7 separate regions of the Homo sapiens genome follow, and all the other regions are linked to region 5. Evidence: promoter capture Hi-C in 16 types of primary human blood cells and fetal thymus (Javierre and others, 2016). All regions are on one chromosome and are shown on one strand. The core of a region is centred on a gene start or on the middle of the fragment in contact, and the rest is flanking DNA. Distances in the headings are between cores, read along the strand shown. Region 1 overlaps HNRNPU (heterogeneous nuclear ribonucleoprotein U). Region 2 has its middle 8.3 kb from the start of DESI2. Region 3 overlaps COX20 (cytochrome c oxidase assembly factor COX20). Region 4 overlaps ADSS2 (adenylosuccinate synthase 2). Region 5 holds the start of AHCTF1 (AT-hook containing transcription factor 1). Region 6 overlaps DESI2 (desumoylating isopeptidase 2). Region 7 overlaps CATSPERE (catsper channel auxiliary subunit epsilon).

Region 1 (2,790 bases), core at 143-2,642, 2.1 Mb before region 5:
GTTTACCCTCAGAGTTGAAAGAACCAACTTAATCTTGCCTTTCCTCCCATCTCTTTAAGATACTAACAAAATGGATAGAGACAAAGACAAAAAGTTTACCTAGAATACCTCCCGGTCTATAATTTTTCTTTTCTTTTTTTTTTTTTTCTGAGACGGAGTGTTGCTCTGTCGCCCAGACTGGAGTACAATGGCACGATCTCAACTCACTGCAACCTCTGCCTCCCAGGTTCAAGTAATTGTCCCTGCCTCAACCTCCCGAGCAGCTGGGATTACAGGAACCCACTACCACACCCAGCTAATTTTTAAATTTTTAGTAGGAACGGGGCTTCGCCATGTTGGCCAGGTGGGTCTCAAACTCCTGACCTCAGGTGATCCATCCACCTCAGCCTCTCAAAATGCTGAGATTACAGGCGTGAACCACCATGCCCAGCCTCTCCCAGTCTATTTTAAACACTGAGATCAGGCCCTAAACATTTTACTTACCATCATCTTATCCATAATAGTATTTGTGCCAAGAATGTTATATTTCCCTGGATTTTCTGCTGCATGTTTAGTAACCCAGGTAGTTTTTCCAGCTCCTGGCAAGCCAATCATCATCACAACCTAGTGAAAAGAAAAGAAATGTCATTTCACTGTCAGTAGACACCACCTAATAATTCTTTAAATATTGTTAAGGCCAATTTAAATATCTAAGTTTTCATAGCCCTTACACTAACGGACAAAAATTTGTTTATGGAAAGATTAACAGTCAACATAAGGGGGAAACAATTACTTAAGAGCAATATGCACAGCACAAAGTAAATGAAACAGACTAATCATCTAGTTCTTCTAAATGTCATTTTGTGCCAGGCAAGCAATATTCAAATGCCACAGTTAAAAAAAAAAAAATCCCTTACTTCACAATCTTTCTTCTCTTCAGGCCCCTTTGGTCCTCTAACTCGATCCTCTAAGGGGACGTTCTGGATGAAAGTATACTCTTCAGGTATTGGAAAATATGGCTTTTCCTTCTGACCAAAATTAAATTCAACTGCACAGTTGTGGCAGAGAACATGCGGGAACAGTGGCCGTCCAGCAAGAACTTCCTTACTGATTTTGAAGGCAACGCCAAGATCTTGTCCATTCTTAGCATACGAGAGTTCTACTTCATCACTTTCAAAGTTCTGTTACACAGAAAAAAATTCAACAGTTAAAATCTGCTTCCTTAAACTTTCTAAAAAACTAAGAATTAAAATTAGGAGCAAAGCTTATCCTGTGGAAGCTACAGGTTAAAGAACTATTAGGTGGCCTTTAAGGGCTACACAGTTAAGAAATCTGATGGTTGTAAACCATGAAGCACGTATCTCCAGAACCAGAAACAATACTGACCTAGAAGCTAGACTGAATTTTCTAGGTCAATTTCATGTTCACTGTTTTCAGTCAAAATGAATTAGTGAGTTCCTCAAAAATGTCCTGTGTTTTCCCAATTCAACTGCTGAATGAAGTCTTTACACTAATCCAGGGACTGGTGTATTTTGTTGCTCATATTGAAAACTGACCTCAGTAAAGCTTCTTTAAAGTTCCTAGATATAGCTACTAACTTTGCCATTTATACATAGAAAGTTAGCTTTAACTTACAGCAAAACATGTAATCACATCATTTTCATCAAACTTTTCTCCATAATCTTCAGTCTCACAGTTGCATGTTTTTATTCCTTTTAGAGAATACCCATAAGAAAATTCTTCTTCACCTAAGAAAATAATTAATCTTCATGAAGTAGATGTTTAAAATAGTCCAAAGACTCATCTATTTTACTACTTAAGATGTAGGCTACAAGAGAAATAAGCATATAACCTAATCACCTGTCACTGACACTATTACTTTTCTATCTCTGTACCAGAATTGATGGAAGTTAGGAGGGATATATACGCAGAGACCAAATTAGTTGACGATTTGCATATCACGGGTAAGATTTTATTTCAACCATTGGTCATAAACTTCTAATAAAGGAACAAAAACTAAAATGTAGCCTGTGCCTACTATGTGCTAATATTACCTGTCTGAAGTATTAACAGAATAGATAAAAACAGACAAAAGGCTTAGAATGCCCTCTAGTTAAAAAACACTGAAATCAGACCCTCCTGAACATTCATGAGCCCACATCAGTCAAAAAGAAGCTTTACCAAGTAACATTCCACTTGTAGTTAGTGACCAGCCAATACGAACTTCATGTATGTCAATATCTTTTGTATATAAATGCCTTACTGGGATCTTCTCTGTAACCTGAAAGTCAAATCATTAAATAATTAAAATAATACACCAAGGAGGTAACCCCTTAACTCTCGCATATTTCATTGCGCCACGGGCTAATCTTCCTCTAGCTATAAATACAAAGAAGGCACACTCTAGCCCACCCCCAATATTTGTAAGAACTTTAAACTGATGTGCTTATAACTTGAAATTTAAAGAGTTAAATACTTATTTGACCCATATTTAAAAGAATACTTAATATTTTTAAAGTTCATGTTGTCAGTCTTTAACTTAAAGCCAATTAAAGGATACAATTAATGTTTTTCTCACCAACAAAAGCAGTAATGTAACCAAATTTTATTTTTAACTCTTTGGTGGCCCTTTCAAATGCTTGATAAAAATGAAGTACCCTAAATAAAAAATCGCCTAGCTCTGCATGGCAAGTTCTAACATAACAACCGTGATTAACTGTCACAACAAAATGAAGGTTCCAAGCTCCTCTTTTAATTTACAGGAAGCTTCAAAAATAAGTACCTTTGATAACTTAGCAGTATGAAGCACCT
Region 2 (4,364 bases), core at 444-2,943, 2.3 Mb before region 5:
TGGGCAGAGACAACAAGCGGCTGGACGTCGAGAGGAACACACATTAGCGAAAGAACACACAGGCGGCTGGACACCGAGAGAAGCACATGGGCTGGAGAGCACAGCCGGCAGGCCATTGATCAGCGGAACCACGCGGAGTTTGGGGGTTTGGCCGGGACGGTGGGAGGAGAGACTGGCTGCCAAGTGCCCGACTCCAGGGGAAAACCATCTCCCTTCTGGCTCCCCCATCTGCTGAGAGCTATTTCCACTCAATAAAACCTTGCATTCATTCTTCAATCAAGCCCACGTGTGATCTGATTCTTCGGGTACACTAAGGCAAGAAACCCAAGATACAGAAAGCCTCTGTCCTTGCAATAAGGCAAGGGCCTCATTGAGCTGATTAACACATGCTGCTATGGACAGCTCAACTGAACGAACACCCTGTAACACACACCCACTGGGGCTTCGGCTGTAAACATTCGCCCTTAGACATTGCCCGGGGTCGGAGCCCCACAACCTGCCCGTCTGCATGCTCTCCCAGAGGTGTGAGCGGCAGAGAACCAAAGAAGCAAGCCACACGCCTATCGCATGCCCTGCCAGGGGGATAAGAGAACCTGCCCCGTTTCAGCAGTATACGTACCATTGTGTGTGCAGGCATGCACGTGTGTGTACACGACAGGGGGCGTGGGGCTGTATCAAGAGATGGAGATGGAGAGAGAGAGAAACAAGGCCCTCCAAACTGGGGTGAAGGGGAACAATAGAAAAGCAGCCTGGAAAATGTTCTTTCTATGTAAACCAATATGTATGCACGTAAAGACAAAGGAAGTCACCAAACTTCAAATGATGTCATTTTTTGAGGAAAATATTTTTTAATTGACATAATAATTGTCCATATTTATGGGGTACATAGTGCTGGTTTTATACATATAAAGTATAGTAACCAGATCAGGTAATTAGCACATCCATTATCTCAAACGTTTGTCATTTCTTTGTGTTGGGAACATTCAATATCCTCCTTCTAGCTATTTGAAACTCTGTATCATTATTAACTAACGGTCATCCTACAGTGCTATAGAACAGGAGAACTTCTTCCTTTTATCTAGCTGTAATTTGTATCCTTTAACACAGGGGTCCCCAACCCCCACCAGAGCATTACCGCCTGAGCTCCAACTCCTGTCGGATCAGTGGCATTAGATTCTCGTAGGAGTGCGAACCCTATTGTGAACTGCACGTGCAAGGAATGGAGGTTCCAAACTCCACATGAGAATCTAATGCCTGATGATCTGTGGTGGAACAGTTTCATCCTGAAACCATTCCCGCTCCCCACCTTCCCCATGCCCTGTCCATGGAAAACTTGTCTTCCACAAAACCAGTCACTGGTGCCAAAAAGGTGGGGGACCACTGCTTTAACAAATCACTCCCTGTCCTTCCCTTCCCCCTAACAAAATGATGTAATTTTGGATGCTATTTGCTTTCTTCCTACTTCCCACCACATTGTACTTAAATGTTTTAATTAATCATAAAAAGTAAAGCTGCTCTTACTGTGAGCAAAGAGCTGGGAAATGAAGAAGTGGAGGCAAGTACAGACAACTCTTTCAAGAAGTTCCCCCCACCTCACTTTTTTTTTTTTTTTTTTTTTTGACAAGGAGCAAAGAAATGGCAGGCACCTGAGCACAAGTGAGGTCAGGAAGAGGTTACTGAATATGGGTGGAAATAATCCAGTAGCTAGGAGAAACTGATGATACAGGAGGAAAGAGGTAATCGCTGGATCAAAATCCTCGAGTCAGCAAGAGAGAATTAGATCTTGTGCTGAAAACTAAGAATTGAATATTTCGTGAAAGTTCATTACTCATGAACTCTGGCTTCCCTCCTGTCACAGTGGTAAGTAGGCTCGCAGGAAGATCAGTGGTTCCTGGAGGCCATGAGATTGTCCCTCACAAGTCTCCCACTGCAGGAGTGTAATTGACCCAGAGCATCAGCTGCTGCCCTCTGAAACTCATCACCACATTTGCACCAAGCCTGCAGCCCCTCAGGCTGTTCCCCACCTGTGACCGAGTGCAGTGAGGAAACTAAGGAAGACCCAGTGCTGGTAGACACAGGACTCTTATCAGCCTGGCTCAAGGACTCCCGAAGGTGTTACCAAACCTTCCTTAGATTGCACAGCAGTTTAGGCAACTCTATCCAATCTCAATCTGCACCATTTCTCTCCCGCGCTCTCTCTCTGGTAAGTCTCTCAACTTCCACAGCTCTTTATTTCCTTTCACACAAGTATTTCCCTGCATGAAATCCTTGCACATTGAATCCCATGTTAGTAACTGTTTCTCAGAGGACCTGGATTAGCACAAGTCATAAGTGAGCGGTCTGAGAAATCAGGCAGTCAGATGGTAATTTGGGACTGGCTCACCCAGCACCCAGAAGGCAGACAGGAAGCCATCCTAAGGGATATGTGGTCAGCGATAGTCCTGGGCTGTAGGTGGTGGTTCAGTTTTTAATGTTTTCATTGATAGTGACCCGAGGAAATGTCCTGGTGGAGGGGAAAGCTATGGCAGGTGCAATGGTAAAGGGATTTGAAAAACATGGGGATCACAAAGACATGATTGAGTTATACTAATGACCTGCACAAAGTGGAGACCGAGAGCCATAGCAGCTAATGGAGATAAGAATAAAAAGCAGTGTCTCTTATAAAGAGGTCATCGTCACCAATAGTAAAAAGGCAGACACAATTGAACACTAAGCTGAAGACCTGGGAGTCACAGGGCTCCAGAAATGTTTGCACACAGCTACTTTAGGTCTGTTACTGGGCCGTTGAGGCCCTGGTAGAGAAAACTTTTGATCCTAAAAACTAGGACAGGAAAATCTGGATGGATGCCTCTGAAGGTGTTGAGCTCTGCAACCTCCACCCCTCCCACCCGCCTCTGGGCACGCAGAGATGGCCCACTGCTCCCTATTAAGGGTTAGCCCTTTTGCTGTACTACAAGATGCTGCAGAAGCCTCGGCCTCACAGGGCAACAGGTGCCCCCCGACCTACAAGGCTGTTGGTTAATGTCTACAATAATAATAACAAACAAGAATGAAAGAAGAGGCTGAGGGACATTGCCCCAGTAAAAAGTCATGGTCCCTTGCTCAGTCCCGAGACCCAGAGTACATTTTCAGACCCAGAACCCATTGACTGAAGAGGCGGCCAGGTTCCCAGGAAGAAGGATCCTGCAACACTGTGGCAAGTATTATATATACCATGACAATTCCCCCAGAGACCTGTGGCTGTTTACTCAGGTGACTTTCCTGGGGAAAGAGGAATAAGCAGACATTTTGAGGACTATTACACACAGGTCTCAGTTGACATTAATACCCAGAGACCCAAAGTGTCATCAAGCCTCCCCTTTAGAGTGAGGGCCTATGAGAGCCACAGTGGCTCCACCCACCCCGGGGCCTCTCCCAGTCTCCAAAGCACATACTTAGAATTATATACTTGGCCGTGGGAGTAACGCCCACATCGAGGCCCTTGGTTTGTGAAGCAGGAGCAATCAGAGTGGGAAAGGCCAAATAGAAACCTCTGAAACTGGCCCCTCCACAAACCCCGACAAAGTGAGAAAACTGTTATTCTGGCGGGTTGCAGGGGGAGGCAGATATTATTACCATCATTAAAGACCTAAAAGATGCAGGGTTGGTGGTCCCTGTTGTATCTTTGTTTAATCGCCAGTCTGCAGAAAACAGATGGATCCTAGAGAATGACTGTTGACTCCCGCAGACTCAACCAGGTAATAGCACCAGTTGCAGCTGGTGTGCCAGATATGGTGTCACTGCTAGGGCGGATTCATCAGACCTTGGGTATACGGCATGCAACTACTGACTCTGCAAATCTGTTCTTTTCCATCCCAGTGAGAAAAGAGGATGAGAAACTGTTCACATTCACATCAACAACAATATTCAATGATCTACCTATTCTATGGAATTTCTAAGTAGATATCCTCATTTAGATAACTAACAAAGCAAGTTCATGTCTGGTCTGATCGCGGTAGAACAGATGCCATGGTAGACTAGATGCCTGGGTGCCATGTTGTTGTGGCATCAATGTTGTACCCATTAAGAATGGAAAAGGCACTAGGGAAGCTGACTGCCCAAGTTTCAACAAGGATGACCTCCATCTTGTCACCAATAGGGGATCATGTTCTTGGAGACGAGGGAGGCACAGAATTGAGAAGTGAGCTATGTTGAACCCTTACCACCTATCTAGGGAAAGTTATTTGTCTTGCCTGAAATATAACCTCCAGATATAGACTAGCAAAGCATTATCAAAAACCTAGCCAATCACATTTCACTTTCATTTGAACAACCTGGTACAATTACCAATGGCTTCAAAAGTCAAGTATATCAATTCCAATTAT
Region 3 (4,273 bases), core at 138-2,637, 2.1 Mb before region 5:
CTCCATACTCTCCTGAATCCACCTTCCACTATTGTCCGCTGGCCCTTTCCAGCCTGTAAACTGGACAGTTTTCATTCCTCTGCCTAACATCCAGTCGTAGCAGCCCATCCTATCTCTTTAAGGATAAAACCCAAATTCTTGGTATAGTAAAGCTAAACCAAGCGCTCTCCCTGGAAGGGCTCCTGTGTTTCACCAAAGCTGACTTACGTACTTTCCCCATCTTCCCAGGCATCTTGTACGTCGTTACATTTATCATATTGGAAGGTAATAAATGATCTTGTTTTCCTCTTTTCCTGGGCTCCTTATTAAGAGCAGGGAACCTAATTTATATCCTCAGGGCAGAACAGGTATTCAGAAAAGAATAATGCAAGAGGAAAAAAGTTTAATATAAACTAGGGAGATCGTAACATTGGCTAATCACGAGCAAATATTTATAGAAGACCCACTGTGTGCTAAATGGCTCCTAATATATACTTAAGATATTCTCCCAGCTTGGAAATTCTGCTCACTTCTTGCTCTTGCTTGCTTCTCTGGTGGGCTTCCATCCAAATTTGGCCATGACATCAGATCATATGGTTAATATTAACAAATATTGTATAAATTGTTTTCATACTTAATATCCAACAGGTTGTCAGTTTACGTACTACTGGTGCCTTATCTGTTTTTACTGTCCCATACACTGCCCATCTGGAATAAGCTTAGTGTTTAAAAAAAAAAAAAGATCTTTGCATACACACAGTAAATCCTAGATTCAGTTTTGTGATAAACACTGGAATCCTGAATGGGACTTTTGGTAGGAGATAACTGCTGTTTTTAAAGGTCATAAAGGTGGTTTAATCCATTGGAAATTAAAAAAAAAAAACTTAAAAGAGGATCAACATTGACCTATTTAACTGGCCCATCAGTAAGTAGCAAAACAATACTGTAGTTGTTGAAATGAAGATAGTTATAAGCCTCAAACCGAGCACAGTCAGAGGTGGGAGGCCAAAAAAACAAAAATTGCTCATGAAACAGTAGTACCTATCAGAGCCCATCAAAAAGCTAATTAAATTAATAGAAGCTATGATGAATTAACAGCCCAAGGTGCTGTCAGAAAGGAAGCCTGCGGTTATTTTTTTTAAAAGAATTTGTCAGTGATCATTCCAGCACAACCCAGGGAGGATTATTTTATTATAAGAATTAGCAAACCTAAAGTAAAAATGGGAGTTACCAAGCTGGCATACCTTGATAGAACTAGCCCCTAAAAACTGTCCTCTGCCACATTCTTGTCCTTTAAGAAACTTTAAAATGTGAAATTTGGTACATACAGGTAAATTCACATTCAGGTAAATTCTTAATTCACCCATTCAAAAAATATTTAGAGTACCTACTGAGTATTAGACACTGAACGAGGTACTAGACTGATCAAGACAGGAAAAATCCCTTTAAGGAGCTGACATTCTACTGGAGGAATCAATAAGCAAGACTTCTACTGAGCCAGTCATGCAAAGATCCAGGAGAAAGGCAGCATGTGTTCGTTCGGTAATAACCATCTCGGCTTGTTAGAATGGCAAGGCCACTGTACCTGGACTAGTGGACAAGAGTAGGATATGAAAGAGCATGGGATCATGTAGGGCCTTTGGAGCAATGGTAAGGATTCTGAGCATAATCGGAGGCTACAGAGGACTTATTATAGTCATCTGATACACATTTTTATGAGTAGAATCAAGATCTGAAAGGTACTGTTGATAGATGGTAATTTGATAGGACAGGTTGAGCTTCCCAATTCAAAAAAAAAATTGTCTTTTGATGTATCAGTTTCAGATTTGGGATGCTCAACCTGTATTAGCAATGAAGTTGGTGGGCAGTGGTCTGGCTCAGGATGTATTTAGAATGTGGATCCTTCCAGACTTGCTAATATATTTGATGTGGATTTGATGAAGGAATCAAGGATGACTCTTAGTTTTTGGGTCTGAAAATTGGTTGAGTAGTGTGCCATTAAGAGGAAGGTTTGGAGGTGAAAATATATTTTGCAAATACGAGGTTCAAGGTGCTTTTTATACATAAAAGTGTCATTCATTAAGCAGATGAATGAGGCTGAAGCTTGGGAGAGATTAGGGTTTGATTTAGAAATCTGGAGTCATCATATAATGGCATTTAATTGAAAGCCTTGGGATACCTAGGAAGAGACTAGATTCCAAAGGAGTTAAGAGTGGCACTTCAGAATCAGGTCTGTAGAGGAGGGAACAGCAACAAAAATGTCAATGAAATAGAAAACCAGGAGACGTATTTGAAGCCAAGTAAAAGTAAAAAAGTTTCAAAAACAAATGATAATTTGTGCCACATATGCTGAGATGCGGATTTAGACTGCAGTGGATGTCTTTTAGAGGTCTTGACTGGTGTCAAGTGAAGTTCAGTGGATAGATGCCTCACTCAAGTGAGTTAAAGGGAGAATGGGAGGTTTTAAGTAGAAAAGCACACCTACACTCAGAAGTTTTGCCCCAAAAGGATGGTGGTTTAGGTGGCTGATGAGAGGAGAGGGGTGTATAGAGGATTTTTGGGTTTTTTTTTTGAGATGGAGTCTTCTTGCTCTGTTGCCCAGGCTGGAGTGCAGTGGTGCCATCTTGGCTCACTGCAACCTCCGCCTCCTGGGCTCAAGCGATTCTGCCTCAGCCTCCCGAGTAGCTGGGATTACAGGCATGTGCTACCATTCCTGGCTAATTTTTGTACTTTTAGTAGAGACAGGGTTTTGCCATGTTGGCCAGGCTGGTCTCGAACTTCCGACCTCAAGTGATCCACCCACTTTGGCCTCCCAAAGTGCTGGGATGACGGGTGAGCCACTGCACCTGGCCAAGAGGGCTGATAGTAAATTATTGCAAGTGAAAAAACTAACGATGCAAATGAAAGGGGTAGCTATAGAAGCCAAGCCCTTGAGTATGCAAGAGGGGAATCAAGTGCCCAAGTGGGAAGACTAGCATTAGATAGGAATAGGGCCAATTCATCCTTTGCAACCAGAGGAAAGAAATACGGGCACTGAAGCAGATTTAGTGGTGGAAAATCAACTGTCTCTAATTTGATCAGATCTATTTCTATACATTATTGACATTCTGGCTTGGAAATCTCTTGAGCTTTCCTTAGATTGATCAGGGTGAGCTGGTAAAGCTGCTTTTCTAAATCTAAGCTTAAAAAATGTCTGACATTTCCTTAATTTATTTTTAAGGGTTCCCGTTTGTTAGTGGCAAAGAGTTAAATCTTAAGTATGCAGGCTACTTAAGGAATAGAAGAGAAATGTTAAAGGCATGTATATTATGAACAGAATATTTCCGTATATAAATAGAATACTTCAAAGGGAGTTATGCCCGGGATCCTTTATTCATCTCCACTTCTGAGCATTTTACAGTTCAGTGTACTTAACTGTAAAGGTATACAGGCTCAAGTCGTTGCATATTCTTCCTGTTTTGATAGAAATTGCAGGGATTTATGTACTGAATCTTATTACTCCTTAGATATGTGACAACTGGAAAGCTCCCCACCAAACCCTCCAGCCTTGGTTACTTCTTAATGATGTGGTTTGGCACAATGAAAATGTCATAGGCTTTGTGGTGAAACTGACTTCTGCCTCCACTCCTGCCAACACTTATTATTAGCCTCTTAAGTCCCCGAGCCTGTTTCAGAGGTAATCTCACACAAAGGCTAGAGAATTAAAAAACATGTAGAGAGCCTGGCACTAATACCTACCTCCCCCACCAGCAGCTCTTAATTATGAGATCAACCACTATTATTTTAGACCAGAGTTTTGTTGGGGATTGGGTTTGTTTCAGAAGGCACTATTTTAAATAAGATGTGTAGCTTCTATTTAGATATTTGCCTTTAAAGTCAGCTGAGCTATTTTCCTATTGTTTGCAAATTTACTTTTATTTAAAAAAATAAAATTTCCTAAAGCAGTGTTTCCCCAATATGACAGTCATCAGAAAAAACCACCTAGAGTTTTCTAAACATAGATTCCAGTGATTGTAAATCAGAATCTGAGAGTGGGACTAGAAAATACTTAATTCTATCCTGTGGTACAAGCTGGTCTCACACTTGCATCTTTGCACCTAAGACTAGATCAAACTGGTACTAATCCTCTGGCCCCAGCATCCCATCCTTGGGGAAATAGTCTAGTTTAGAGGTAGTCCTGGACTGGAGCGCTAAGTCCAGCATTCCTCACCTGCATAACACTACCCACATGATCATATGTCCCCTGGGCTCTCAAGCTGATAGGAAAAAGTCGTCTTGCTAAATGAAATCCCCC
Region 4 (4,139 bases), core at 1,511-4,010, 2.5 Mb before region 5:
CCCTAAGTTTGTCCAAGTTTATAGGCAGCTCAGGCTGGAAAGTTCAGCAGTAAAAGACAAAGTCACATGGTGGTATAAAGTTTGCTCATTCAAATATTAGTTATTGAAAAATAGCAACATTTTTCAATAACCAGTATTACATTGATTATTATATGGTTTAAATATCATTTAAGTTGTTTCCGTATGGAAACATTGTTAAATATACCCAGAAACACCCGAGATTATCCTACGTGGGATTTAGGGGGAAATATCTAAGTGCTTATTTATATTTGGTCACTAGTGCTCTGTGAGGCAGTTGGGGTATAACTTTTAATCTTGAAACGCACACTACACAGAAGGGTCTTCAGGAGAACTGAGAAAGAGCTGCTCATAAGGAGTTTCTTGATGAGGTAATCTATATAGGAAGCAAGTTTTAGTATACTGTATTTTATAAAATGCAACAGATAAAGAAATTTGAAGTGCCCATTTGGATGTTAACCTAAAATATTCAGATTATGTAAATAGGCAAAATTCACCTTGGGAGCTCAGGCAATTGTCCTCAAACAGAGATTATACTGGTTCAAGGAGAGGTCACATATTAGCAGACAGTAAAACAAAGCATTTCAAATATGAGCACCATAACCAAAAACAGTTTCAAATACGAGCACCCCCTCAGTCTCCCACCTATGTATTAGAAGGGCAGATGGAGCTGCTCCTACATGGGCCCATGGGCAACTCTGTGTAATATGTGCCAGGATGAGCAACAGCAAGGATGTGTTTGATTCATCATGTTTCATGATTCTCCCAAGCAGCACTGGGGAGGCCAGATAGTACCAAACAAATGATGGGAGATATTTTGTTGTTGTTGTTCTACTTCTAACGGAAACATACAATTTCCTTCTCAATCCAAATTTTCCACAAACCAAACTTGGTAAGTTATCTCCCACAAATGTATTAGTCTTATAATCACATTAACAGTTACACTAACTACCTCCTGCTTCTTTGCCAAACTCCCGTAACACTTATGATCCCAGTCACTCTTGTAGCATTTAACAAATACTTTTCATTATCATAGCTGTATATTCTATATTACTTAACAAAAAAATAGAATATGTTCAATTAATAGTTATATAAACAAAGGGCTGTGGAATCTCAACGTTGTTTCTGGATCAATTATATCCAACAGGGAAAACATTTAGTAATAAATCTCAGAGATAATTTTTTGAACTTTGTTTTTCCTAGAAATAAGTCATATTTCTGAGTTGGTAAAATGCTTTTCTGAACGTACATTTTTGGTATCTGGCACAGTCAACCAAATGTCTGTCCATTTTTGTGTAGCCTTTATACAGTACAGATTTCAGACATCATCCTTGCATCTGAATATTAAAAACATTTGACATTGTTTTTTTCAGTCCGCACAACACCCCTATGAAGTAGGTGGTACTGACTATTCCACAGATGGGGAGGCCTAGGCACGGAAAGGTTTAGTGGCTCCTCACAAGCCACGTGGCAGGGAGGCGGAGTGGCAGAGTGGCGGAGCGGCTCTCCAGCCACGTGCTGACACCGCCTTCTCATTCACACTTCCATCAGTGCCACAACACTGCATGGCAGGCTTTCAGGTTGAGGCCAATTTTTAAACCATTTTACTTCTGAAATATACCCTACCCCCCACCAACACCCCAAGAAACAAAAAACAGCATGAGTCCACAAGTAGCTACGTGGCAGGTTTCTTTGAGGAAAAGCATAAGCTTATAATGCCTTATATGATGTTCTTCTTATATTAAATACCAAGAATAAATGCAGGTTAATTTTATTAAAGTGAACAATATATGAAAGAAAATTCAATTGCAGTCACAAAACATCCCCTAATATAGTATATATTTTACCAATTTTCTTTGACTGTTATTCTTACATTAAGATGAAATACAGGCCGGGCGCGGTGGCTCACGCCTGTAATCCCAGCACTTTGGGAGGCCGAGGCGGGCGGATCACGAGGTCAGGAGATCGAGACCATCCCGGCTAAAACGGTGAAACCCCGTCTCTACTAAAAATACAAAAAATTAGCCGGGCGTAGTGGCGGGCGCCTGTAGTCCCAGCTACTTGGGAGGCTGAGGCAGGAGAATGGCGTGAACCCGGGAGGCGGAGCTTGCAGTGAGCCGAGATCCCGCCACTGCACTCCAGCCTGGGCGACAGAGCGAGACTCCATCTCAAAAAAAAAAAAAAAAAAAAAAGATGAAATACAAAGAAAATATTAAATAAGCTTCTTAATTACCAGGAAAAAATGTATCTCATCACAGAGCTATGAAATAAACTGGAACATCATGATAGAAACAAAAAGCAGGACTAAAATTCTATGTTCTCAAAGCTGAAAAGCAAAGTTTCTGATGTATGCTTTTAGTTTTTACCATCAATACATAGCTAATTTTCATTATTTTAATTAAGGTTAAAATAATAAAAACCAATTTAACTCTATTTTTTGTTCCAGAAAAGCACTACAGGTCAATAGCACATTAGAGTTTTGGAAAACAATTTATAAATGAGAACAATCCAGAACAAATGCTTCCTCATACCTTATTTTCCTATACAAAATTAACTCCAGGTTAGTTATAGCTTTTGTATGCTCAGTCCCCCTCCTTTTCCCCTACTTTGCAAATCATAGGAATCATCCCCCCAGCCACAGCAAACTGATCCAGGCAGGGAAACATGTTCCAACCTGAGCCAGTCAGCTCCTCTCCCTTGGGAATCTGAATTTGAGTACTGAGAAGGAAAGCAATAGCAGTCTGAGATGCCTGTCACCTACGGGAAGCATCCTAAAGAAAAAGGTTGCCAGTTCTAGCTGCTGAAATTCCAGGAGCAGGCTTCATCTCAGGCCACCATCCTGCTCTTCCTTTAAACAAATCCCCATTTTGCTTGAGATAGTTTCTTTCCATTGCTTGCAAACAAAGAACACAAATGATTCACAAAAAAAACTTACTACAACATAATATACACCTTGCTGAATTTACATCTTGTACTAGTGAAACTGAATATTAAAATGATTGCTAGATATTAATAACATTTTATGCTGTCAAGGACAATACTTTAAAGCATTACTGCAGGATAGAGGAATGATATAATAGTATTTAGTTATTCTGTAACTGTTCTCAGTTTTTCCATGCATTCCTTTTCTTCCTAATTTGATGTTTAGTTTAAGGAAGTCGGAAGACAAGTGTTTTGAATTTTCTTTCCATGACTCCTCAGAACCAGAGGCTGTCAAATCCAATTATAGAATAAAATTTTGGATCAGGAAATGCTAATATGTGTAAGCTTCTAGCTAAGAAGCTCCAAAGGTCCAGGGGAGGTTAAAAAAAAAAAAAGTTTGGAAAGGAATTAAATGATATTAGTTTACAAAAGTGACTCTTGATTCTTAACTTGGTTTCACTACTGGGCCTTCTCCTTCCCTAAATCACTCCTTTCTTCGCTCCCCCAAGTGCATTTCTGCTGTGGTAGAGAGATGAAGGCAGTGAATGATCCTCAGTGTTGTAAACCTGAAACAATGGTCTCTTTTCCAGAATACAGGCCCAAGTGTCAAGGGCTACCAATTTCATGCACAAAGCCCAGAGGCATTTTTCAGGCTAGTTAGGCCTCTGTGTCTTATCTTTGTCCTTTTGCTTTGAATATATGAACAACCTACTGTAATCACAGAGCTCAAAATGAACATCAGGAAGTCAGTGGCCACTATGGATTACAGGAGAGAGCAGCAGTGTCTCAGATCCCATGCCCCTGAACTATTTCAGCAACCAAAAAAGGGTTGCTATTTTTTTGTCTAATCTTCAAACTTCTTAAGAGCCTAAAAATCTTTGGAGTCAATGCTTATTATCTATGCTGCTTTCAGGGTAAAGATTGTAAGATCTGTGTCTCCTCCTTTCCAGATGAAACATGTTACCATTCACCAAAACTAAAGCACTTATCAATCCACAGCAATAAAGCAGTTATAAATGATGATTGTTCTTTCATGAAAGCATTCACATAACTGCAATTAGCTTATGATTCCAAAGTAGAGCAGGTTAAGTTACTACCAGCAAGTTGATCAAATTTAACTATGTAGCAGTAACCAGACACACTAGACAGCAAGAGAAAAAAATACACAGGGTATCTGAATTTCTTTCTAGCAAAGATAT
Region 5 (3,998 bases), core at 398-2,897:
CAATTCCCGGTTGACATGATGTTTTAAAAATTTTTTCAAGATAATTATTGTTGTTTGCAAACTCGTGACAGCTTGGTAGTATGTTACTGAAGGATCAGGATCCAAAAATCACAGTACAGAGACAACGTAGACTTCCCATAGCGCTTGGCACACTTAAAACATCCCTTCAAGTATTAACCTTAACTGGGCTTGTCATCCCAGGTCAAATCCTCCGAAATAAGTAAACCACTCTAATTTCTTCTCTCCTAAGAGACTCTATCAGTGAAAGCTCACAAAAAAACAGTTTAAAAAAAAAAAAGGGGGGGTCTCGCCATGTTGCTCAGGCTGGTCTCAAACTCCTGGGTTCAAGCGATCCTCCCGCCTCAGCCTCTCAAAGTGCTGGGATTACAGACAGGAGCCACTGCGCCCAGCCAAAGACAGTTCTTAAAATCTACAGGTTCTTTAGGATATTCTGAGAATAAATATCGTTTAGGATTTCCCCAAAGGATTTACGTTTTGTTCTATGAAGAACCCAGTTCTTCCAAAAATTTCTACAACTGACGATTTGGAAATAAAAATAACGCTCATCTCATAAAACTTTGCACACAGATAGTATGAACCTCGTAAGCTTTGAGAACAAAATTTCCCCATCTCTCAAAACAAAACACCCAAACCAAAACAGTCAACCAGTGGCAAAAGAAACCGTCCTGTTTCCCAGGTAGGAAAAAGGAAGGCAAAGCACCCCAAGATGTGCTTTTATTTTAAATCTCCTTGATCTGACCAATCGGGTGAGCTGGAACCTCACGGCTGAGCCCCGAGTCCAACTTCTTCCCCGCCAGGACTACTCACTGTGGCCAGGCCCAAGCGCATGTGGAACACACGCCAACACAGGACAGGCTCAGCACGCCGGCCGCTTCCCTCGGGGAAAGGCCCGCCAACGAGTCCATCGCGTGGGAGAACAGTGGGAAAGGGTCGCGGCCCCGGCCGTCCGTAAAGGGACCCGACTGCCGGCGCAGGACGCGAACCACCAGCGCCGCTCCGCCGCCATGTGCCGCCGCTCCTCCGGTCCGAGATTATGTAACGAAGCCCGGCGCCCGCGAGCCTGCCGTACCCGCCACCGCCACCGCTCGCCCCCTCGAGCCCCATCCGTTGGCCCCGCGCACGCCCGGCCTAGGCCCGGCGCTCGCGGGGCAGAAGCCCCGCCGCCGCCGCCGCCGCCGCCGCCGCCGCCGCGGGTCCAGGCCGCGCGACCCGCCCTCCGCCGCGCGGGCCCAACCCCCTCCCTCCCTTCCCCCTACCTGAACGGGGCGGGTGAGCGCGCCGCCGCGGGCCGAGTCCACCGGGTCGCCAGGCCAGGCGCGAGCTCCTCCCGTGCGGGTCCGTCACAGCATCTCCCGGGAGACGTGGCCGCCACGGGCCGGGCTCACACCCCTCCGCCCGGCTGAAGCCGCTCCTCTGCGCTCCGGCCGCCGCCTGCGACCTCCCCGGCCACCTCAGAGCCACACGCCCCCGAGAGTGCCTTCGCGGGCTGTAGGCCTGCAGACCGCTCAGCGGCTAAAACGCAGTCGCTGCTCCCGCCGCGCTTCTGGGTCCTTCCCCTTGCAACGCTGCCTGCTCGCCTCGGACAGCGCCGGCCCCGCTCTGCGCATTACCCTGCGCCGACAAAACCGAGTTCCACACGCCCCGGAAGGGAGGGAGCAGAGGAAAGGGCGGAGAGGGAGGGGAGAACCGGCGGGAGATCGCGGCTGCAGGGACCAGAGTTCTCGCGATGGTTCCGCGCTCTAGCGCCGGCTCCGCGGGAATTTTCAAACTCTCGGTGAAAGAAGGAGGTGGGAGGGAAAGGGAGGAAAGAGAAGCAGGGCCTGGAAGGGCGGATCATTTACAAAAAAATCGGGTCTCTCCGCCTCCGAGGAGCTGGTGGGGAGAAAGACTACGAGTCCCACAGTGCCTTGCGCGTGAAGCCGCCCTGGCGGCCCCGGCGGCGCGCCCCGTGCGCAGTTGGGAGTGGTAGTCTTCGCTGGGGGTCGCGCCGGGCTCTGCCAGCCGCCTGCTGCGATTGCAGGCGGACTCTCTTGTCACGTAATCGTGTGGCCCTGCCAGCTGGGGGCCGAGTGATAATCTTTCTCCCATAATTGGCAGCTTGCATTCTGTATTTTCTGTTCTGTGCTCCCACTTTTCTTTTTTTCTTTTTCTTTTTTTTGGAGACGGAGTCTTGCTCTGTTGCCCAGGCTGGAGTGCTGTGGCACGATCTTGGCTCACTACAACCTGTGCTCCCGCTTTTCATGCCAAAGGTGGGCTCCCAGACTTCTGGGGAAACGCTTTTTCCACGGTGCTGTTTTTTCTAGCATCCTCCTGTGCTTTCATGGCCAAAAATGCTCGCGCAGCCTAGCCTAATCTTTTTAGTCAAAATTTTACCCCAAATCACTGTTATCTTTTTGGTCACCGCGGGTTTTCATTGTGGAATTTCTTATTTCTTGTTAGTATCTTCCTTTGAAGCAAATCCCAGCGCCAAACATGTTTCAAACAGATAGGGAACGTATCCTTAATACTAAGTAGTAAGTAAAAGGATTATAACATGAGGTAGAGTAGGGATTTTAAGAAGATGCTCTTTTATCAGGAAAGTTTCTACTTTTCTGTTACCTTTCATATGTGCTTTTTAAATTTTTTTATTTTTGAGACAGTGTCTCGCTCTGTCGCCCAGGCTGGAGTGCAGTGGTGTAATCAAGGCTCACAGCAGCCTCGAACTCGTGGGCTCAAATGATCCTCCTACCTCAGCCCTCCAAGTAGCTGGGACTATGGGCATGGACCACCATGCGCCACTACGTCCCATTAATTTTTTTATTTTATTTATTTATTTATTTATTTATTTATTTGAGACGGAGTCTCGCTCTGTCACCAGGCTGGAGTGCAGTGGCACAATCTCGGCTCACTGCAACCTCCGCCTCCCAGGTTCAAGAGGTTCTCCTGTCTCAGCCTCCAGAGTAGCTAGGACTACAGGTGTGCGCCACCATGCCCAGCTGATTTTTGTATTTTTAGTAGAGACAGGGTTTCACCATGTTGGCCAGGATGGTCTTGAACTCTTGACCTCGTGATCCACCTGCCTCAGCCTCCCAAAGTGCTGGGATTATAGGCGTGAGCCACCGCGCCCGGCCTTATTTTTTATTTTTTGTAGAGACTGTCTCACTGTGTTACCCAAGCTGGTCTCTACTCCTGGGCTCAAGAGATCCTCCTGCCTCAGCCTCTCAACGTGCTGGGATTACAGACATGAGCCACCATGCCCAGCCTATTTTTATTTTTGTAGAGACTGTGTCTTGCTGTGTTGCTCAGACTGGAGTGCATGGCTATTCGCAGGCACTATGGCCTCATCAGTGCCACTGCTGCCTCCAACTTCTAGGCTCAAGCTATCCTCCCACCTCAGCTTCCCGAGCAGCTGGGACTACAGGCATGGATATCATGCCTGGCCCATATTCTTTCAGAGATAATGCTGCCTTTTGGAAATGTAATTTTCTTTTTTCTGTAATTTTTGTTTCTTTAGTAACAGCAACCTCCATACATATCATGTTTGTTTGCACAAGGTATTGGACCAAGTTGTGATAGAAACAGTTAAAAAGAGTACTGCTTTTGCAGTAGGAGGTTTGGGGTTCGTTGTCTTAATTATTTTAAAGAGATCTCTTCAAACAGAAACCACCCTCTGTTGGATGTGCTGATTTATGTCACATGCTCCATATTCTACACTTTCTTTGGCACTGTTTTATGCCCAGTTCATGAGTACTGTACCTCTCGATAGTCAGAAGACATGAATTATCAACTCAGGTGTGCTGCTAGTGAGCTGTGTGACATTAGGAAAATCAAGTGACCTCTCTGGGCTTCAGTTATCAGATGTGTAGAGCAAGGGATTGACTGATTCATTAGACAGATATTTATTAACTTTGCTCTAAGAGCCCTTCCAGTTGTGAAATTCAAAAATCTATTTTAATTGCACATATTATCCAGATTGACTGTCTACATAGTCTTTCAGA
Region 6 (4,230 bases), core at 502-3,001, 2.3 Mb before region 5:
GATTCTAGCCTTATTACCACACTGTTTTAATTATTATACTTTCACGTTATATTTGGAATCTGATTAGGCCAGTTTCCCTTTACTATTATTCCAAAGCTTTATTGGCCTTCATTTCCTTTTCTAGGAGTACTTTGTAAGGCTCGCTGAAAAAAATTCCATAGGTTTTTGTTTTGTTTTAATTGTGTTAAAATACACATAACATAAAATTTACGTTTTTAACTATACAATCTACTGTGTTAGGTATATTCACATTTTTGTGCAACCAGTCTTCAGAACTTTTTTATCTTGCAAAACTGAGACTCTATACCCACTAAACAACAACTCCCCATTTCTCCCTCCCCTCAGTCCCTGGTAATCATCATTCTGCTTTCTGTCTCTGTGCATTTGACTAGATAACCTCATTTAAGTGAAATAATACAGTATTTATTTTGTGACTGGCTTATTTCACTTAGCATAGTCCTCAGGGTTTATCTATGTTGCAGCATGTATCAGAATTTCCTTCCTTTTTAAGGCTGAGTAATATTCCACTGTGTATGTATATGCCACAGAAATCAAGCTAATTTTCTTTTTTTTTATTATTATACTTTAAGTTCTAGGGTACATGTGCACAATGTGCAGGTTTGTTACATATGTATACATGTGCCGTGTTGGTGTGCTGCACCCATTAACTCATCATTCACATTAGGTATATCTCCTAATGCTATCCCTCCCCGCTCCCCCCACCCCACCACAGGCCCCAGTGTGTGATGTTCCCCTTCCTGTGTCCAAGTGTTCTCCTTGTTCAATTCCCACCTATGAGTGAGAACATGCGGTGTTTGGTTTTTTGTCCTTGTGATAGTTTGCTGAGAATGATGGTTTCCAGCTTCATCCATGTCCCTACAAAGGACATGAACTCATCATTTTTTATGGCTGCATAGTATTCCATGATGTGTATGTGCCACATTTTCTTAATCCAGTCTATCATTGATGGACATTTGGGTTGGTTCCAAGTCTTTGCTATTGTGAATAGTGCCGCAGTAAACATACGTGTGCATGTGTCTTTATAGCAGCATGATTTATAATCCTTTGGGTACATACCCAGTAATGGGATGGCTGGGTCAAATGGTATTTCTAGTTCTAGATCCCTGAGGAATTGCCACACTGACTTCCACAATGGTTGAACTAGTTTACAGTCCCACAACAGTGTAAAAGTGTTCCTATTTCTCCACATCCTCTCCAGCACCTGTTGTTTCCTGACTTCTTAATGATCGCCATTCTAACTGGTGTGAGAAGGTATCTCATTGTGGTTTTGATTTGCATTTCTCTGATGGCCAGTGATGAGCATTTTTTCATGTGTCTTTTGGCTGCATAAATGTCTTCTTTTGAGAAGTGTCTGTTCATGTCCTTTGCCCACTTGTTGATGGGGTTGTTTGTTTTTTTCTAAATCAAGCTAATTTTCAGTGTCATTAGACACAGGTTACTTCCATCCTTTGGCTGTTATGAATAATGGTGTGTGAACATGGGTTTATAAAAATAAAAATGTCTATTCAAGTCCTGCTTTCGATTTTTTTGGATATATACCCAGAAGTCCATAGATTTTTTTAATTGGGCTTGCACTAAACTTATAAATTAACTTGGGAAGAACTGACATCTTTTCTATCATATTCTTCCCTCCACCCCCATTGATGAAAACAGGATGTTTTTTGTTTTTTGAAATTTTTATCCAGAAAATAGTTAAATAATGCCAAACTCATCTATCTAAACTGTCTATTAAACAGAATAAAGCTAATAAAATATATATGAGATAGTAAGTGGTAATTAGTGCTAAAGAGGAAAGTAAAGCAAAGAAGGGGAGGGACAGTGTAAGTCAGGATGGTATAGTTACCGGTTACTGCAGTTTCAAAGAGAGTGGTCAAGAAAGGCCTCACTAAGAAGGCATTCCTGAAAGGTGAAGTATACCATGTAGAAAGGAGAAAGTGTTCCAGACAGAGGGTAAGCAAACATCAAGGCTGTAAATCGGGCCACATGCTACCTGTTAAGTAAATGTACAGCAAGAAACAAGAGAAGTTTTTAAGGAATTGTTGATTTAAGTTCTCAGGTAGATTCAGTAGGATCATTGAAAATAGAACAAGCAGTACCACCAGAAAGGGAAAAATCTGGGATTAGGATAGATTCCACAAAAATGAAAAGCACCATTTCCTAATTTTTAACTAGAAAGGGAGTTAGATTGGGAACTAAAGAGAAAACAACAAGATTTAGAAAGTCAGAAATTCAAGTAGAAGGGTCAAAAGGATCAAGTGATAGGCAAAACTTTTTAAAAGTTAGGACCATTCAACCAAAGCCTGGTTTAACTTGCAGTTTTTTTTTTTCCTTTTTTTTGACATGGAGTCTCGCTCTGTCGCCCAGGCTGGCATCCGTCTCGGCTCAGTGCAAGCTCCGCCTCCTGGGTTCACGCCATTCTTCTGCCTCAGTCTTCTGAGTAGCTGGGACTACAGGCGCCTGCCACCACGCCCGGCTAATTTTTTGTATTTTTAGTAGAGACGGGGTTTCACCATGTTAGCCAGGATGGTCTCGATCTCCTGACCTCGTGATCCGCCCACCTCAGCCTCCCAAAGTGCTGGGATTACAGGCGTGAGCCACCGCACCTGGCTGCAAATTTTAAGAATAAAGTAAAAAATCCTACAAATACACAAAGGCAAAAAAGTTACACGGGAACAAAATCAGGCTAATTTCAGACTTCTCTTTGCTTATACCAAAGGCTGAATAATAAAGTAGAGCATTATCTACAGAGTATTAAAAGGGAAAAGATTTATGTCTGAATACTATAGCTTCTCCAGTTGTCATTCATGTACAAAAGGACATAGACAATATGTAGATACCTTTCTGGGGGTTAAAAAATTATTCAAGAACTTGGCCGGGCACGGTGGCTCACGCCTGTAATCCCAGCACTTTGGGAGGCCAAGGTGGACGGATCATGAGGTCAGGAGATCGAGACCATCCTGGCTAACACGGTGAAACCCCATCTCTGCTAAAAATACAAAAAATTAGCCAGGCGTGGTGGCGGGCGCCTGTAGTCCCAGCTGCTCGGGAGGCTGAGGCAGGAGAATGGCGTGAACCTGGGAGGCGGAGGTTGCAGTGAGCCGAGATTGCGCCACTGCACGCCAGCCTGGGCGACAGAGTGAGACTCCGTCTCAGGAAAAAAAAAAAAAAAAAAAAAAAATTATTTAAGAACTTAACAATGGGGTGGTTACACTAAAAGGAAAGGCCATGGCCATCAATACTCATTTAACATAGCTAAATCTTATAACTGTGGTTAAAAACAGGGCCAGTGTCCAGAATTACTCTTTGAAGAGAACAAGCATGATGATTTTTAAAAATTAAGTTTTCAGGTTATGTTGAACAAACCTTGGGTGAGAGAGAAGAGGTAAAAGCTTGTAGCAGCCCTATATAGAAGGACGTGTGTTGTAAATATACTTAATTCTTGTTTTGGAAGATTATATTTGAGTGTATGTGTTAATTTTTTTCATTAAGATGTATTATTGGGAGAAAATCAAACCTACAGGGAAAAGAGCAACGAAGACGTAATCCATATGGTGTAATAGAAAAAACAGAGAAAAGTTCAATATGAAATGAAGTCAAGGCCAGGCACTGTGGCTCAGGCCTGTAATCCCAGCACTTTGAGAGGCTGAGGTGGGTGGTAGTGGGACCTTATCTCTACAAAAAATAAATAAATTAGCCAGGCCCATGCCTGTGATTCCAGCTACTTAAGGGACTGAGATGGGAGGATTGCCTCAGCCCAGAAGGTCGAGGCTGCAGTAAGCCATGATTGTGCCACTGCACTCAGTCTGGGCAACAGAGCAAGACCCTGTCTCAAAAATAAATACAAATAGGACCAAGCATATAAGTTATGAAATGACAGTAAATAAATTAAAATCCCCTATTAAGCTTGGTAAGTGTATTTATAAGTGTCCTTTGCCTTACAGAAATTTTGTTCTATGTGGTCAAAACTGTTGGTCTTTTATAACCTTTCATCTTCCAGTCCTTCCCTAGATTTTTCCTTGCAAAAAATGATAGAAATAATCTACATGTTTGTTCCCAAGTGGAATGCCAGTTATCCCAATGCTGTTTATTGAATAATCCATGCTTCCCCATGTTAATTTGTGGCACATACTATGTTTATGTTGTACTAAATTATCATGGATATTTAGGTCTGTTTGAAGACTGTCTGTGCTATTCATTTCTGCCTCTTCC
Region 7 (4,187 bases), core at 531-3,030, 2.5 Mb before region 5:
CCCATGAGAATGGGAGTGCTATTAATAATTATACAACAGGTATAAATTAGAACTGTCTAGACAAATCAGGATGTATGGTCACCCAAACTATAGACCTCATTCTCTATATTACTTTTCTTATTCAACACTTTCTACTTCATTTCTTCTTATCTGCCTAATTACTGGTGTAAATCAATTATATTTTATATACCCCTATTGCTGGACATATAGCTTCCTACCATCACAAACAATACTGGAATGAGTGTCCTCTATAGGTCCTTTTATGTATCTGTGTATCTGTGCAATCATTTTCCTGCTATATGTAGCCAAATAGAGTTGCCTGGCCATGGGAAATACACTTAATTTAACAAAGTTCCGCAAGATTGTTTCCCGAATGGCAGTTACAATTTATATTCTCACTCAATGTACATCTTCACCAAAATTTGGTGTTATTAAATTTCCTATTTTTTTTTTACCAATCTCATTATTATCCAGTGATAGCTATTGCTGTTGTTATTTTCAGTTTCTTTGATGACTAGTGATTTTGAGCATCTCTTCGCATATTATGTAGGCTTCTCCTTCTATTACCTGTTCATACCCTTTGCCTATTTTTCATTTAATTTTCTGCCTTTTTCTTACTCGTTAACACAGTGCTATCTACATTGCGTTGTAAAAATTAATCAAATGTTGGTTTCAAAGATTCAGTTATCTCAAGTTTCTGTTAACTTTGTTCATGGATACTTTACTGAAAAAAAAAAAAGCTGAATTTTGATGAGCCAAATCTCTCCCCTCCTTTGCCTTATGATTTAAACTTTTGGAGGCTCCTTTTTTTTTTTTTTGGAGACAGAGTCTCACTCTGTCACCCAGGCTGGAGTGCAGTGGTGCAATCTTGGCTCACTGTAACCTCTGCCTCCCGGGTTCAAGCGATTCTTCTGCCTCAGCCTCCTGAGTAGCTGGGACTACAGGTGCACACTACCATGCCCGGCTAATTTTTGTACTTGTAGTAGAGATGGGATTTCACCATATTGGCCAGGCTGGTCTTGAACTCCTGACCTCGTGATCCACCAGCCTCGGCCTCCCAAAGTGCTGGGATTACAGGCCTGAGCCACCGCGCCTGTCCAGGGCTCTTATTTAATAAAAATATTTGCTTACCCTGAACTGAAATGTTTTTATAATTTTAGTTTATATTTCTTATATTTTTACCTTTAAAATATAGGTCATAAATCCATCTAGAGTCTGCCTTGTATATAGTACAATAGGCATTCACATTACTTTTTTCACATAATGAACCAGAATCTATTAAACAACTCACTGTTCCCCTATTACCTTTCTCATGTCACCTTTGTTCCGTATGTAGATGAGTTGTTTGTGAACTTTCTTATTTGTCCTGGTGCCAATTCTACACTCTCTTAACTGCTATAGCTTTCTAATGAGTCTTCGGATCTGGTCCTGTGAACATCTAGTTTGTTCTTCCACAAGACTACTTTGGCTATTTGCGTTTTTATATAAATTTTAGAATAAGGCTGTTAGTTTTCACAAGCAAAAATCTGCTGAGATTTTGATTGGGATTGCACTTGGGGAGAACTGACATTGTTATCATAGTAACTGGTATCATTATGATATTGAATCTTCCAATTCATGAAGAATGATGTAGCCCTCCAGAGTTGATCTCATTATCTTCTTCCTAACTTTAGTAGATTTCTTCCAACATCTCCCAATTAAACAGATGCTCCCTTTTGGGCAGAGAGAGATACATTTCATTAAATTAACTAAGTATTCATTGGTTCCTAATTTATTGAATATGGTAAAAAATAGTCGCTATAAGTGATACTTATAGTGAATTGTGAAATGCCTTTTCACAGTCTACAGAAAAAAGTTTTTGAGTTTTCTCAGACTTGTTATCATAGTGAATCATATTAACATATTCACTTTTATTGTATCATCCTTGGATTTTGGGAAAACCCCACACGGTACCAATGTAGTAGTTCAATATGCTCTCAGGGACTATTGTTAATATTTTATATAAGATTCTTTTATCAATATTCATACATGAGTTTGCTCCACAGCAGTTATCTCAGTGGGGATGCCACTGAAATTTTGAGCAGGAAAAATTTTCATTGTATGGAACTATCCTTTGCTTTGCAGAACAGCTTGCTTCCCTGGTTCCCAAACACTAAGTAGCAGTGACAATCCTCAGGGATTGTGTGACCTGAGATACTCTTCCATATTTCCAGATGCCCTCTAAGGCAGGCAGAATCCAGCCAGTACACACTTGGGTAGCATGCTGCCTGGTATTCGCTTGGAACTGTCAGTGTCTGTGCTGTACAACTTGTTAAACACTTGTCATATTATCCCTGTCTTTAAGGGAGCGTGTAGCAGTCAGGGGTCAGAGGACAGCAGTAACCACTCTAGATATTTCAAGCAGAAATTTATTTGCTACAGGAAATTAGGTGCTCACCAAACTGTTGGGAGGGCTAGGAAAGCAAGGGTCTTAGAAACCCCCACTAATTTTTAGGTTTATCAATAGTCAAAAAGTTGCTGTTGCCACCAGAGATCAGGACCTGGAGGAAATAGGTGCCCATGTCACAAGTCTCTCCCAGTACCTAATGAGGGATGGTGCTCAATGGAAAGATGGGACAGAGGCCTTCCCCAAAACCACCTATCTTTGAAGCCTGGACTTTTGGTACCACTGCCTGAGGAAGAAGAATGGCTTCCTCTTTTTTACAAGTTCCAGTCCACATCTGATTTTCAGTCGTTCAGAACCCTTGAGGGTTCCTGGTTTCCAGCTCCTGCAATCTAGGGATAGCCTAGAGTTATGCAGGAATGAATGATCATGGCTGAGAATACAATACACAACAGTCAATTCCTAGCACTGTGTGGTATCACTCGTAAATTAGAATCAGGAGTCTTTAGTTAATTTTTACTAAATAACTCAACAATTTCTGTTGTGTTTTCTATCAGTGTTGTGCTCCCTTTATAAATAAATAAATATTTATAATTTGAACCAGGCCCAGATGGTTTTGTGTGGGAATTCTACCAAATCTTTAAGAAGCACATCATTTCAGTATTGTTTAAATTTTTCTAAAGTATAAAAAAGAAAGGAGGAAAAGACCTAAGGGGATATTTCACAAAAAAGGATGTACAAATGACCAGCAAACTTATGAAAAATTAGTGAAGTGTGAATTAAAATTACAGGGAGATGTAATTACAAACCAATCAGAATGCCTAAAATTAAGAAGACTGAAGATAACAAGGGGTGGTAAGAATGTAAAGCAGTAGGAACTCTAATACACCACTAGAAGGAATGCAGGTTGGTATAACCACTTTGAAAACCTGTTTGCTATTATCCAATAGTGTTGAATATATACGTATCCTGTGACACACTAGTTTGACTCCTAGGTATACATCCAGCACCAGAAGACCTATGTAGGAACGGTTACGACAGCATTATTCCTAAGAACTCCAAACTAGAAACAACCCAGTAGCATGTCAATCAGTAGTATAGAGGGATAAATGCATTTCTGTGTATTCACATAGTAGGATACTATATGGCAAATGAAAATAAGTGCATTGTGTCTACATGTCAACACAAAACAATATGGATGAATCTCACTGTACTCTGTGAAAGTAGCCATACAGAAAAGAACACATTCTGTATAAACTTTATAATATTCCATACCAGGCAAGAGGAATCTATGTAATATATATTTTCTTTTACAATTGTGTTTTCAAATTTATTGCTATTCATTTGTTTATAATCTTTGCTTACCATTTCAATATCTATTTTTAGCTATTTTATGTCTCTAATAGAGTTTATTTGGGCACTTTATCTTCCTTTCCTGGACAGTTTTGCCATGTATTGGACCATTTTATTGTTTTTTTTTTTTCTTTTTTCTTTGAGACAAAATCTCGCTCTGTCACCCAGGCTGGAGTGCAGTGCGCAATCTTGGCTCACTGCAACCTCTGCCTCCCAGGTTCAAGCAATTCTTCTGCCTCAGCCTCCCGAGAAGCTGGGACTACAGGTGTGTGCCACCACGCCCGGCTAATTTTTTGTATTTTTAGTAAAGACGGGGTTTCACCATGTTAGCCAGGATGGTCTCAATCTCCTGACCTCATGATCTGCCCAGCTTGGCCTCCCAAAGTGCTGGGATTACAGGCGTGAACCACCACACCCAGCCTTATTGGTCTTTTTAAGAATCATCTTTTTT

The links. Contacts are between HindIII fragments. The CHiCAGO score rates a contact against its expected background, and 5 or more counts as called.
Region 1: a contact is called between a fragment that was not itself captured here and the fragment with the promoter of AHCTF1 in region 5, in 2 of 17 cell types (fetal thymus and non-activated CD4 T cells). The highest score is 6.0, in fetal thymus.
Region 2: a contact is called between a fragment that was not itself captured here and the fragment with the promoter of AHCTF1 in region 5, in 1 of 17 cell types (non-activated CD4 T cells). The highest score is 9.5, in non-activated CD4 T cells.
Region 3: a fragment that was not itself captured here is called in contact with the fragment with the promoter of AHCTF1 in region 5 in 2 of 17 cell types (fetal thymus and non-activated CD4 T cells); the score reaches 8.8 in fetal thymus.
Region 4: a contact is called between a fragment that was not itself captured here and the fragment with the promoter of AHCTF1 in region 5, in 3 of 17 cell types (total CD4 T cells, non-activated CD4 T cells and fetal thymus). The highest score is 6.9, in total CD4 T cells.
Region 6: a fragment that was not itself captured here is called in contact with the fragment with the promoter of AHCTF1 in region 5 in 2 of 17 cell types (fetal thymus and total CD8 T cells); the score reaches 5.8 in fetal thymus.
Region 7: a fragment that was not itself captured here is called in contact with the fragment with the promoter of AHCTF1 in region 5 in 2 of 17 cell types (non-activated CD4 T cells and fetal thymus); the score reaches 8.1 in non-activated CD4 T cells.

Annotation. Positions count from the first base shown.
Region 1 is chr1:244,857,115-244,859,904 of GRCh38, forward strand. HNRNPU (heterogeneous nuclear ribonucleoprotein U) reads right to left here. Exons shown (of 14, transcript NM_031844.3): 5 at 2,161-2,260; 6 at 1,615-1,727; 7 at 897-1,160; 8 at 484-603. Among named protein-coding and RNA genes, the nearest start is that of SNORA100, 4.3 kb to the left of the region's middle. The HindIII fragment of the contact is 302 bases long and covers 1,242-1,543 here.
Region 2 is chr1:244,642,620-244,646,983 of GRCh38, forward strand. No RefSeq gene overlaps it. Among named protein-coding and RNA genes, the nearest start is that of DESI2, 8.3 kb to the right of the region's middle. RefSeq lists an enhancer at 103-656. The HindIII fragment of the contact is 7,093 bases long and covers 1-4,364 here.
Region 3 is chr1:244,836,257-244,840,529 of GRCh38, forward strand. The region is part of intron 1 of COX20 (cytochrome c oxidase assembly factor COX20); the gene reads left to right. Among named protein-coding and RNA genes, the nearest start is that of COX20, 2.7 kb to the left of the region's middle. The HindIII fragment of the contact is 1,385 bases long and covers 696-2,080 here.
Region 4 is chr1:244,442,327-244,446,465 of GRCh38, forward strand. The region is part of intron 1 of ADSS2 (adenylosuccinate synthase 2); the gene reads right to left. Among named protein-coding and RNA genes, the nearest start is that of ADSS2, 7.5 kb to the right of the region's middle. The HindIII fragment of the contact is 1,046 bases long and covers 2,238-3,283 here.
Region 5 is chr1:246,930,301-246,934,298 of GRCh38, forward strand. It overlaps AHCTF1 (AT-hook containing transcription factor 1), which reads right to left and starts at 1,648. Exons shown (of 36, transcript NM_001323342.2): 1 at 1,278-1,648. RefSeq lists enhancers at 771-860, 1,981-2,030 and a silencer at 1,201-1,300. The HindIII fragment of the contact is 4,479 bases long and covers 606-3,998 here.
Region 6 is chr1:244,660,846-244,665,075 of GRCh38, forward strand. The region is part of intron 1 of DESI2 (desumoylating isopeptidase 2); the gene reads left to right. Among named protein-coding and RNA genes, the nearest start is that of DESI2, 9.8 kb to the left of the region's middle. The HindIII fragment of the contact is 3,314 bases long and covers 95-3,408 here.
Region 7 is chr1:244,464,235-244,468,421 of GRCh38, forward strand. All of the region lies in intron 2 of CATSPERE (catsper channel auxiliary subunit epsilon), which reads left to right. Among named protein-coding and RNA genes, the nearest start is that of CATSPERE, 5.1 kb to the left of the region's middle. The HindIII fragment of the contact is 6,278 bases long and covers 1-4,187 here.